Linked DNA regions of Homo sapiens: all the other regions are linked to region 3. Evidence: promoter capture Hi-C in human tissues and cell types (Jung and others, 2019). All regions are on one chromosome and are shown on one strand. The core of a region is centred on a gene start or on the middle of the fragment in contact, and the rest is flanking DNA. Distances in the headings are between cores, read along the strand shown.

Region 1 (4,371 bases), core at 532-3,031, 570 kb before region 3:
CTTTTGTTGCCTATACTTTTGGTGTCATACCCAAGAAATCACTGCCAAATCAAATATCATAAAGCTTTTCCTCTATATTTTCTTCTAAGAATTTTCTACTTTTAGTTTTTACATTTAGGCTTTTGATCCATTTTAGGTAATTTTTGCATGTGGTGTAAGGTAAGAGTCCACCCTTTTTGCATATGTTTTCCCAGACCATTTGTTGAAAAGACTTTCCTTTCCCCATTGAATGTCTTGGCAATCTTGTCAAAAATCGTTTGACCATCTATGTGGGGGTATATTTCTGGGCTCACTCTTCTATTTCATTGGTCTATTTGTCTGTCTTTCTGTCAGTACTACACTGTTTTGATTACTGTAGCTTTGTAGTAAGCTTTCAAATCAGAAATTGTGATTCAAATTTTTTTTTCAAGATTATTTTTGCTTTTCTGGGACCTCTGTGATTCCATACGAATTTTAGGATGGATTTTTCTATTTTTGTAAAAAATGTCATTGTGATAGGTATTTCTCTGAGTCTGTAGATCACTTTGGGTAGTATTGACATCTTAACAATATTAAGACTTCTAACCCATGAAAACAGGATATCTTTCCACTTATTTATGGCTTCTTTCATTTCCTTTAGCAACATTTTGTAGTTTTCAATATACATACCTTTTGCTTCTTTGGTTAATTTATAAGTATTTTATTCTTTTTCAAGCTATTATAAATGAAATTTTTTCTTAATTTCCTTTTCATGTTTCCATTACATGTATTGCAAATATATTCATGTTGTCCACTGTTAGCATATAGAAGCACAACTGATTTTATATTTATTTTTTATCCTGCAACTTTGCAATATTGACTTATTAGTTCTGTCATGTTTTTTGTGGAATCTTTAGAATTGTCTACAAATTATGTTATCTATTCAGAGATAATTTTAATTCTTCTTTTCTCATTTGCATGTCTTTTATTTCATTTTCTTGCCTAATTGCTCTGACTGGGACTTTTAATACTACTTTGAAGAGAAGTTGCAAAAGTGGGCATCCTTGTCTTTTTCTTGACCTTAGAAGAAAAGCTTTCAGTCTTTTACCATCAAGTATTTTTTTAGCTGTGGGCTTTTCGTTTATGGCCTTTATTATGATGAGGTAGTTTCCTTCTATTCTTAGTTTGTTGAGTTTTTTTAATCTTGAAATAGTGTTAAATTTTGTCAAATGCTTTTTTTGCATCTATTGAGATGATAATGTGGTGTGTTTTCCCCCTCCATTCTGTTAATGTGCTGTATTACATTAATTAATTTTTATATCTTAAATCATCCTTGTATTTCAGGAATAAATCCTACTTGGTCATGGTACAAAATCCGTTTAATATGCTACTGAATGCAGTTTGCCAGTATTTTGTTGAGGATTTTTGCATCAATGTTCATAAGGGATATTGGTTTGTAGTTTTCTTTTTTGTTGTTGTTGTTGTTTTTGTTTTGTTTTGTTTTGTTTTGTTTTGTTTTGTTTTGTTTGAGACAGAGTCTCACTCTGTCGCCCAGGCTGGAGTGCAGTGATGCGATCTCAGCTCACTGCAACCTCCACCTCCCTGGCTCAAGCAATTCCCCTGTCTCAGCCTCCCAAGTAGCTAGGATTACAGGCACACCCCACCACACCTGGCTAATTTTTTTTTTTTTTTAGTAGAGATGGGGTTTCACCATGTTGGCCAGACTGGTCTCCAACTCCTGATCTCAGGCAATCTGCCCACCTCAGCCTCCCAAAGTGTTGGGATTACAGGCGTGAGCCACCGTTCCCAGCTGTAGTTTTCTTTACTTGTAGTGTTTCTATCTGGCTTTGGTATAAAGGTAATTCTTGAATGAAGTAGGAATTGTTCCCTTCTTTTCAGTATTTTGAGAGTATTTGAGAAGGATTTATGGTAATTCCTCTTTAAATATTTGGTAAAATTTACCAGGGAATCCATCAGATCCCTGGGCTTTTCTTTGTTAGATGGTTTTGCCTAACAGATGTTATCTCCTTACTAGTGATAGGTCTGTTCAAATTTTTTATTTCTTTATGATTCAGTCTTGGTAGATTTTGTATTTCTAGGAATTTGTCCACTTCTTTTAGATTACCCAATTCTAATTGGCATACAACTCTTCATAGTATTCTCTTATAATTCTTTTTACTTCTGTAAAATTCGTAGTGATGTCCCAACTTTTGCTACTGATTTTAATAATTGAGGTTCTTTTTTTTTCTTAATCTAGCTAAAGATTTTGTCAATTTTGTTGATCCTTTTAAAGAACTAACTTTTGGTTTTCTTGATTTTCTCTATTGTTTTTCTATTCTCTATTTTATTTCTGCTCTAATTATTATTATTTCCTTTCTCCGGCAAGCTTTGTGTTTAGTTTGTTCTACTTTTTATAGTTTTTTAAGGTGTAAAGCTAGATTATTGATTTGAGACCTTATTTTTCAATGTGAGCATTTATATCTATAGATGTTTTAGCTTAGCATTGCTTTGCTGCATCTATTAGTTTTTGCTGCATCTATTAGTTTTTGCTGCGTTGTTTTTTCATTTTTATTTGTCTCAAGATATTTTATAATTTCCCTTGTGATTTCTTCTTTGACCCACTGGTTAAGAGTATGTTGTTTAAGCCTGGGCAACATAGCAAGACTTCATCTCTACTAAATAAAATAAAATAAAATAAAATAGCCAGGCATGATGGCACACACCCATAGTCCCAGCTACCTGAGAAGCTGATATAGGAGGATCCCTTGAGCCCAGGAGTTCCAGGTTGCAGTGAGCTATGATTGCACCATGATACTCCTGCCTGGGCAACAGAACAAGACCCCATCTCAAAAACAAACAAATTTTTAAAAAATAAAAATAAAGAGTATGTAGTTTAATTTCCATGTATTTGTGAATTTTACAGATTTCCCTCTGCTATTTATTTCTAGTTTCATCTCATTGTGATCCGAAAAGATACTTTCTATAATTTCAGTCCTTTGAAATGGTTTAGGACCTGTTTTGTGGCCTAATGTATGGTCTATCCTGGAGAATGTTGCATGTGTGCTTAAGAAAAATGTATTTTCTGCTGAAGTCCTCTATTTCCTTATTAATCTTCTTTTTGGTTGAACAACCTGATTTTTAAAAACAGGAAAACTAAAACAGATACTAAGATACATGAAGTAATTTGTTTTAAATCAGGCCATGTCCATCATGACACCAAATAATCTTCCTATATCAAAATATATATTTGAACTTTTAAAGCAACTTTTTCAAGAGCTGTCATATGTGGTCATACAGGTTCTGCACTGCTCAACATAAATGTGTGCAAATGCTTTAACTTCTAACTGGCAGTAGCCACCATTTTATAACTCTGAAGTAATTGAAAGACAGAATGAGATTCCCCTTGCAAAACACAGCCTGTATCCTTTCAGAGGTTTTTTGTGTTTGTGTGCCCCCTCTCCCACGAATGCATGAAATGCAAATTAAACAACAGGTGTTTTCTCTCAGTCCACAGGGCATCTGGGAGGACTTAGGACAGTGGGTGATGTAAGGAGAGGACTCCTGAATCAGTCTGGCATCTCTACTAACTAGAGATCAAATAGATAGGCCTGAAAGGCTCACAGCAAAAATCAGATACCAGCCACAAGGTTTCCCACTCAAGACCTCAGCCAGAAGGAAAAGCTGCAGATCAGGCACACACTATAGACCTGTACTGCAGTGCCTTGATCAGTCACTACCCCCAGCAGCAGCACTGACTTCATGTATGCCTTCCTTTCTCTTAGTGTCTTATTAAGAGCCTGGCTGAAGCCCTAGGAAGGTCAACACCCCATCTTCCACCTTGCACCATCTTTGTTTAAGATCTCATCTTGTTAATAGTGTAGAGATAATTTAATGTGCATACCAGTCCATTATCTGCCCATTACCTACTTCCCCTTTCCCTAACTAATATCTGAGAAAAGCTGATTTTGTGCCTGCTTGACTCAGACATGAAGTCCATTCTGCCCTCATTGTGTTTCAACTCAGAGATGAAAAGTCCATACAGACCTACTGTGTATACGAGTTGGTTTAGATTTCTGATGAAGTATATAATGCAAGCAATAGACTGTGAATGCAGCATTTATTGCACTCCATGGAAAATGCAGTGACTATGCTGGTTCACTGCTGACAGAATATTCCACAAGGACAATTACTACTTTCTTTTATCCAATGACAAGAATTATTTAACTCATTAAATTTTTTTTTCACTTTGGCTTCTTGGAAGCTCAGTTAATATTAGCTTAGGGTTGTGGTGTCACTTTTTTTTCTTATTCTCTGTCAATCATTTACTGAGATATGTTTCTTTATGATTATCTGGTTCAAGTCTTTTCTACAAGTTTATCATTCAGAATAAGCTTAATGGGGACTATTGGCCTC
Region 2 (4,119 bases), core at 142-2,641, 900 kb after region 3:
TAGAAACAACAGAAACAGAAAATCTCATTTTATAACATCTTTAATAGAGCTTAAAACTATTATGCAAAAGGTTTAATAAAACTGGATCTCAAATGATGTCAAAATCTCTCCAGATTACTTGCTAGTAGCAAAAAAATAAAAATTTTGTAACTAAGAGATCAGGTCATGAACACTTTAATCATCTGAGCATCATGAATGGCGAGACAAGTATTGTGTAATATGATGCAGTAGGAAGTATGTGAAAAATACCTACAATGTATTCATGACAAAAATGCTTAACCTCAATCCAATCAAGGATTCAGATCTAATCTGCACTTTTTATAAGAGGATATAAAAATAAAGAAGTTAAATGACACCCTTTGGAAACAATCAGACAAGTCCAAAAGACAGACCATTCTAAAGGAGAAATGACTTAAGCTTCCCAACATCAATGTCATGGGGGGCATAAGGGGCCTAGGGGTTGTTCTAGATTAAGAAACCTTAACAACCTATCAACCAAAATAAATGCTTGTTGGTTGACTGGATCTTGGTTTGAAGCAATCAGCTGTAAAATCCATTTTAGCAGCAATCGGGGAAATGTAAATATTTGATGACATTAGGAAATAACTGTTAATTTTATTATATTAATATACTGTCCTTTTGTAGAAAATCTCCTTACTTTTTAGAGATGCATACTGAAGTATAAGGGTAAAATGTTTATTATGATCCTTATAATTTTCTTTAAGGTACACAGGCCAAAAAATAGGAAAGCAAATATGTAAAACTGTTATCAACTGCTAAATCAGGATGAAGGGGTATATAAGTATTCATTATAATTTTACGTTTGTTTGAAATTATTCATAAAAGTAAAAAAAAATGAAGAGAACAAAACAAAAAATCCTCTTAATCCTTTTCATAAATATTCCAAAAACCAGTTTTACTAAGAAGTGAATTTACAGTGCTTTATCTCTAGAGGTCAGTATTGTGTAAGAGAATAAAAATATTATAGCATATCTCAGTACATACTACCAGAATAATGTAAGAATTGCTGACTTAGTATTTTTAAAAATGTTCTTCATGTTACATAAACTCAATACATTTATTAGTAACACTTACATGAACATAATTATTTCAAGTGTCTAGTACAGTAGGTGCTTAAATAAATGTAAATGATGGATGATAATGAGGTATAGTGGTAAGGCAGAAGAGCAGCTACAAAATGTGTTTATTTTACCTGTAAGATAAGCTTAAAAAAAAAAAAAAAAAAGCCCAGTAGGAAATAAAAAGTGGTTGGTTGGTACGTTCCTACACCTACTTCAGAAATAACAATTTATTATTAATAGCTATAAAATTTCCACCGAGTGAATATACACTTGACCCTTGAACAACACAGGTTTGAACTGTGTGGCTCCCCTTACATCCAGATATTTTTCAATAAATATTTTGGTAAGCTTTTTGGAGATTTGTGACGATTTGAAAAAAATTCACGGACAAATTAAGTAGCCTAGAAATATTAAAAATTTAAGAAAAAGCTAGGTATGTTATGAATGCATAAAATATGTTGGAACTAGCTTATTTTGTCATTTACTACCATAAAATATACACAAAGTATAAGAAGTTAAAACTTACCAAAACTTAAGCACACAAGCACTTACAGACCATACATACGTAGTGCCATTCACAGTTAAGAGAAATGTAAACAAATGTAAAATCATAAACTGCACAAAATTATAGTATGTATTACTGAAATAATTTTGTACCACCCCCCCCCCCACAATGCTACTGTGTGGGCCCAAGTGTCATGAGCACCCACTTAAAACCCTATGTGACTTTGGGAGGCTGAGGAGGGCGGATCATGAGGTCAGAAGATCGAGACCATCCTGGCTAACATGGTGATACCCCGTCTCTACTAAAAATACAAAAAATTAGCCGGGCGTGGTGTCAGGCATCTGCAGTTCCAGCTACTCGGGAGGCTGAGGCAGGAGAATGGCGTGAACCTGGGAGGTGGAGCCTGCAGTGGGCTGAGATCACGCCACTGCACTCCAGCCGAGCGAGACTCCGTCTCAAAAAAAAGAAAAAAAAAAAGAAACCCTACGTGATGTAATCATCTCTGTGTGAGCAGTTTGTCTCTCCGGCAAACTGCTCATCATGGTAAAAAGTGATCTTTTGTGGGTTTTGCATATTTTTCATAGTGTTTAGTACAATTTCATAGTGTTTAATGCAAACTTTGAATAACACCCATGAGACTCATTTGAAGAGCCACTAGTGATGCCGGAAGTGCTCCCACCTAGAGAAAAATCATGACATTACAAGAAAAAGTTGAATTGCTTGATATACACCACAGATTGAGGTCTGTAACTGTGGCTGCCTGCTATCTCAAGATAAATGAATACAGCGTAAGAATAATTGTGGGAAAAAAAAAACAAGAAAACTCATGAAGCCATTGCTGAAGCTACACACCAACAGGTGCAAAAACCTTAACACTTTTTAATGAAATACCTTTTTATCTCATATTGAAAATGCAGCTATTATGTGGGTATAAAACTGCTACATGCCTAAAGACTGTAGTATGATTCAAGAAAAAATGAAGTCATATGACAACTTTAAAAAAAAGGAAGGTGAAGAATCTAAAGCTGGATTATTTAATGCCAGTAAAGGATGGTTTGATAATTTTAGAAAGAGGTCTGGTTTTTAAAAATGCCAAGATAACAGGAGTAGCAGCTTCTACCAACCAAGAGGCAGCAGACAAGTCCCCAGATGCCATTAAGAAAATCACTGAGTTCTGTCTGCTTGAACAGGTTTTCAATGCAGACAAGTGTCCTATTCTGGAAAAAAAAAAAAAATTTAAAAAAGGGGCCACAAAATACATTTATTAGTAAGGAAGAGAAATGAGCACTAGGATTTAAGACAGGAAGGGATGGGCTAACTCTACTGTTTTGTATAATGCAGTCAGGTTTATGACCAGGACAGCCCTTATCTACAAAACCGCTAACCCCCGAGTCTTGAAAGGAAAAGATAAAACACCAGCTGCTTGCTAGTCTTCTGACTACAACAAGAAGGCCTGGACAACAAGAATCCTTTTTCTGGATTGAGTCCACTGATGCTTTGACCCTGAAGTCTGAAAGTACTTTGCCAGTAAGGGACTGCCTTTTAAAGTTCTTTGAGTACTGGACAATGCCCCTGGCTACCGAGAACCCCATGAGTTCAACACTAAAAGCATCAAGTGATTTACTTGCCCCCAAACACTACGTCTCTAATCCAGCCTCTAGAGCAGGAGGTCATAAGGACCTTTAAGGCTCATTATACAAAGTACTCTATGGAAAGGACTGTCAATACCAATAGTAGAGAACCCTGACAGAGAAAATCATTCAAAGTCTGGAAGGATTACACCACTAAAGATGCCACTGTTATAGAAAACCCATGAATTCGTCAAGCCCAAAATAATAAGTTCCTGCTGGAAAAAACTGTCCAGATGTTGTGCATGTCTCCACAAGATTTACAACAGAGGCAATCAAGAAAATCATGAGAGTGCAGATATTATTTTTAAAAGGTGGGGCGTAGAGGGTTTCAAGATAGGGATCTTGGAGACATTCAAGAGTGAACAGACACCACACCAGAGGATTAACAGAAGACGACTTGATGGAGATGAGTGCTTCAAACCAGGGCTAGACGATGAGAAAGAAGATGTAGAAGAAGCAGTGCCAGAAAATAAATTGATTTTAGACAATCTGGAAGAAAGGTTCTCATTATTCAAGACTGCTTTTGACTTCTTTTATGACATGGACCATTTTACGATACAGTCACTGAAACTAAAGCAAATAAGGAAGGATTGGTACCATATAGTAAAATTTTTAGAGAAATGAAAAGTAAAAAAGTCAAACAGACATTACAACATATTTTCACAAAATTACATCAAGTATATCCTGCCTCTCCTTCCACCTCCTCCACCCGAGACAACAAAACTAATAATCCTTTCTCTTTCTCCTCCTCCTCTGCCTATTCAATGTGAAGACAAAGAGGATGAAGACCTTTAGGATAAGCAATTTCCCTCTTATTCAATCATATATTTGCTCTTATGATTTTCTCAGTAACATTTTCTTTCCTCTAGCTTACTTTATTGTAAGAAACAGTACATCATAA
Region 3 (4,300 bases), core at 1,332-3,831:
AACCTGTAAGGGTATCTATCTGATTTTAAATTCTAGGCTGGGTACAGTGGCTCACTCCTGTAACACCAGCAGTTTAGTAGGCTAACACAGGCTGATGGTTTGAGTCTTCAGAGTTCCAGACCAGCCTGGGCAACATGGCAAAACCTCACCTCTACAAAAAACAATTAGCTGGGCATGGTAGCCACATGCTTGTTAAGTCCCAGCTACTAGGCAGTTTGAGGTGGATTGCATGAGCCCAGGTCAAGGCTGCAGTGATCACACCACTGCACTCCAGCCTGGACTGCAGAGACCCTGTCTAAAACACTGAAAATATAAGTATTTTTAAAAAATGTAAAAGTGAAAATGGGCCAGGCATGGTGGCTCATGCCTGTAATCCCAGCACTTTGGGAGGCTGAGGCAGGTGGATCACCTGAGGTCAGGAGTTTGAGACCAGCCTGAACAACAGGACAAAACCCCATCTCTACTATAAAATAAAAAATTAACCAGGCTTGGTCGCAGGCACTTGTAATCCCAACTACTTGGGAGGCTGAGGCAGGAGAATTGCTTGAACCTGGGAGGCAGAGGTTGCAGTGAGCCAAGAACACACCACTGCACTCCAGCCTGGGCCACAGAGCAAAACGCCGTCCCCCCCCCCAAAAAAAAAAAGTGAAAATTTTATATTTAAAATATAAAACACTGAAAATATAAGTATTTTTAAACTAAGTTTTAGTTCCTAAAACCCTAAAACTTAGTTTTAGTCCTGCCTCTGCCACTTAATCCTTTTTTAAGGACGTTAAACTTGGTTAATTTAAAAATATTAGTTACTAGCTTTTTAACACGTGCCTACTAGCGCACTAGGTTCTCAACCATGGGTGTGCATTACAAACGCCCCAGAAACCTTAACACCCCATACCAATCAGAATTTATCTAGAGTATGCCAAAGTTATAAACTGCCAGTGTCCAATAAAACCAGTCAGGTCTCACATATTATGTAGTTAACGGAATCCAGTTTTCAAATGACTCAAACGACAACGAAAACAGGATAGACCACTCTAAGATACCCATATATTCCACCTGAAAAGTGGAAGTCTCATAGTACACCTTTATATTCCTAAAATCTGCCAGTATTCTGAATAAAAACCAACAGAAGTTAACAACTGGTCATCAATTTATTAAAATAGTTGACTTAAGCATCTGCAATGGTGACTTCCACCTCAACTCCTGGCTCAATACTGATGGAAGTAATCTGCTTAACAATCTCAGAAGGACTGTGCAAGTCAATGAGTCGCTTGTGAATTCTCATCTGGAAACGATCCCACGTCTTAGAACCTTCACCACAAGGAGTTTTTCTTGTAGTGATTCTCAAAGTCTGTAACAAAAGACAAAGGAAACCAAGTGTTTATCGTTTTATACTTATCCCTAGAACATCTGGAAAATCATTACTTCTAATCATTTCATTAGTTTCCCTTTGGTATGATTCCAATTTACACTAATAGATTTTCAGGTACCATGGGTTGAAAATGCCAGGTCTGTTTTCACTGTGCTAGGACACCACCCTTAGAGCTTGCGCCTGTTAAGCACCAAAGCACACCAAGAACACAGCAACAATAATTCAACAATCATATCTAAACATTAGCTACTTACTAGGAACCGCAATCTACCACCGATTTCTATGTGCGTTTGTAGACAGCATCAGTGTTAACAATTTTGGCAGCCGAACTCCTTAAAGAACCTGAATTTATGCAACATCCGGAAGCAACTCCTACTTCCTGCCCCTCCGATTTACTTTACCTTGGTAGGCATTCGAACTGGTCCTTTCACTTTGAGATTCTTTTCTTTTGCGCCTCTTATCAAGTCAGCACACACTACAGGAAATAAAAGACCTCTCAGTATAATCGAAACAATTAAAATCGGCTTAAGGCCTTCACTTCTGCTGGCTCAGAATAGCGTATAAAATTATCACCGTTACTCAACACAATAGGTACCTCCTCATCGCCAGCTGTATGACAGTAAAAGCAATTTTAAGCCACGCTTTACTTTTTTAAGTAACTTGTCACTTTAGTTCTTGCAGTCCACCTTCTACACTAACATTAACGAGTAAAGCTCGTCGCTTTTCGCCCAATTCCCCCTCCCCCCCGCATAACGAATGCACTGACCCTTTTCCAAGGATTTTACGTTGCGGCTTGTTAGGGTGATTCGAATTCGGTGAATTGCCACCTCCGGCTCCACGGGTGTTTTTCCGGTATCCTTAAAAGCCTATTATTAGATACATGAAAAAGAACAATAAGCCAAAAATGGTCTGCCACTTCTGGAGAAAGGCAGCTTCCGGAAGCTTCCCGCGTTTCCCCACCATTTCAGGAGCGCCTTTCCGCCCCTACACGCCCCGGCATCTGCCCTCAGGAGCACGAACTCGAAACCGGGGTCCCCCCGGCGCCCGAGCCCTGCGTTGCGCCGCCCGCCGCCGACTGCCGCCTCACCATGGCTGTTGCGCGCGGGCTTCCTGACCGACTTGTTCCTCGGCGAGAGCGAACAGCGGTGAGTCAGGAGCAGGAGCGTGCGGACCAAAAATCCTCAGCCCTTACGACCGCGTCTTCCTCAAAAAGAAAGGGGTGGGACTTGAGCAACGCTTATATAGCACGCTTGCATCCGGGTCCCACACGCCCCGGAACAGGAAATATCCCGGGCCCTAGAGGCGGTCGCACAAGGGCGAGCTGGAGCACTAGTGGAGTTGGCGGGAAAGGCACGGCTGCGGGCGCCCCCTGTCCGCACGGAGGAGCCGAAGTCCCGCAGGGTGGGGTCCCCGCCTGCGCCGAGAGGGCCACCTGGTCGAGAGAACAGGCGACACGGAAACCTGAGAAACTCCTCTGTCTGGTGCACCTAACCCTCTTCCTCATAAAGTGCACACGAACTCTGGTTTTTCCGTTGCAAATTTTGCTTTCTACATAGACCATACCATTCGTTGCTCTCTGAGGATGAGGTAACTTCTCTGAGCTTAGCTGACATGAGCATTGGCAGAAATGCTTCTCGTAATCTGGATAACTTACGTTAGAATTAGTAAGCAGTTATTTTTCATAGCCTGAAACGTCCTGTTGTGATATTTCAGCTCCTGGCTTCCCAGTCCAGCAGAAGTATCTACATCTATTTCTGGAAAGGACCTGAACTTGGCTTCTCGTCCTTCTGGAAAGTGAGGCGAAAATGCCAGGCTGCGCAGCTATCCTGAGGCCCGGCCTGGAACCTGGCTAGCCACCCAGTCCTGATACCTCATCTCCTTTCTGTTGGATAAAGTCATTGGATAAGATCCCCCAGGGTCTTCTTAATACTGAACATCTGTTCATAATCACATAAGTGACCAAGTATAGTGGAAAACCCGAATGGTCAACTGAGCTGAGCAGTGGGAGAGAGCGCAGGGTGAGCTCACCTACACCTGAGCAAGAAGCCGGGGCTAAATACGTGGAAATCACTGAGATGGATTTTGATACAGGGCAGAAAGAAGAGTAAAATCATCTCATATTACTTTCCACCTGAAGCTCTGAGCCGAAAGAGTTATTTGCTCAAACACTCTGAAATGGGGAGGGACAGAGCTCTGACCCCTCCGTCCAGGCCTGTTTGTTGTTTTTTTTTTTTGTTTGTTTTGTTTTTTTTTTTTTGTGAGACGGAGTTTCATTCTTGTTGCCCAGGCTGGAGTGCCATGGCGCGATCTCGGCTCACCGCAAACTCCGCCTCCTGGGTTCAAGCGATTCTCCTGCCTCAGCCTCCGGAGTAGCTGGGATTACAGGCATGCGCCACCATGCCCGGCTAATTTTTTTTTTTTTTTTTTTTTTTTTAGTAGAGACGGGGTTTCTCCATGTTGATCATGCTGGTCTCAAACTCCAGATCTCAGGCCCGCCTCGGCCTCCCAAAGTGCTGGGATTACAGGCGTGAGCCACCGCGCTCGCCCCGTCAGGACTCTTTCTTGAGGTTTTGTCTTCTGTTCCTTGGTAGGAAATTATGTTTGAAACTTTAATCAAATAATAGCATTGTCTTATTTGGTGATAATTGGAACATAACTAATAACTGGGTTTCTTTGGCTCACGATACGTATGAGGTTTTTTGCTGCCATTTTAACAATTATTTTAAATTTTCAAATTTGGATGTTTTCCAGTTCAGTTTTTTGGGTTTTTTGTTTGTTTGTTTTTTGAGATGGAGTCTCGCTCTGTCGCCGAGGCTGGATGCAGTGGCACGATTTTGGCTCCCCGCAACCTCCACCTCCTGGGTTCAAGCAATTCTCCTGCCTCAGCCTCCCGAGTAGCTGGGACCACAGGCACGTGGCACCACTCTCAGC

What was found. The method cuts DNA at HindIII sites, captures the fragments that hold promoters and counts their contacts. A contact is called where the count stands out against the background at its distance.
Region 1: a contact is called between a fragment that was not itself captured here and the fragment with the promoter of RPS20 in region 3, in 1 of the 25 tissues and cell types used here (mesenchymal stem cells).
Region 2: a fragment that was not itself captured here is called in contact with the fragment with the promoter of RPS20 in region 3 in 1 of the 25 tissues and cell types used here (hippocampus).

What each region holds. Positions count from the first base shown.
Region 1 is chr8:55,502,745-55,507,115 of GRCh38, forward strand. The region is part of intron 2 of XKR4 (XK related 4); the gene reads left to right. Among named protein-coding and RNA genes, the nearest start is that of XKR4-AS1, 16 kb to the right of the region's middle. The HindIII fragment of the contact is 3,129 bases long and covers 218-3,346 here.
Region 2 is chr8:56,970,042-56,974,160 of GRCh38, forward strand. All of the region lies in intron 3 of BPNT2 (3'(2'), 5'-bisphosphate nucleotidase 2), which reads right to left. Among named protein-coding and RNA genes, the nearest start is that of BPNT2, 22 kb to the right of the region's middle. The HindIII fragment of the contact is 3,036 bases long and covers 1-2,909 here.
Region 3 is chr8:56,071,925-56,076,224 of GRCh38, forward strand. It overlaps RPS20 (ribosomal protein S20), which reads right to left and starts at 2,582. Exons shown (of 4, transcript NM_001023.4): 1 at 2,457-2,582; 2 at 2,136-2,235; 3 at 1,771-1,844; 4 at 1,130-1,348. The coding sequence starts at 2,459. The coding sequence ends at 1,166. SNORD54 (small nucleolar RNA, C/D box 54) reads right to left here and starts at 1,977; the gene lies at 1,915-1,977. CERNA3 (competing endogenous lncRNA 3 for miR-645) reads left to right here and starts at 2,668. Exons shown (of 2, transcript NR_149110.1): 1 at 2,668-2,956; 2 at 3,083-3,350. The HindIII fragment of the contact is 21,018 bases long and covers 1-4,300 here.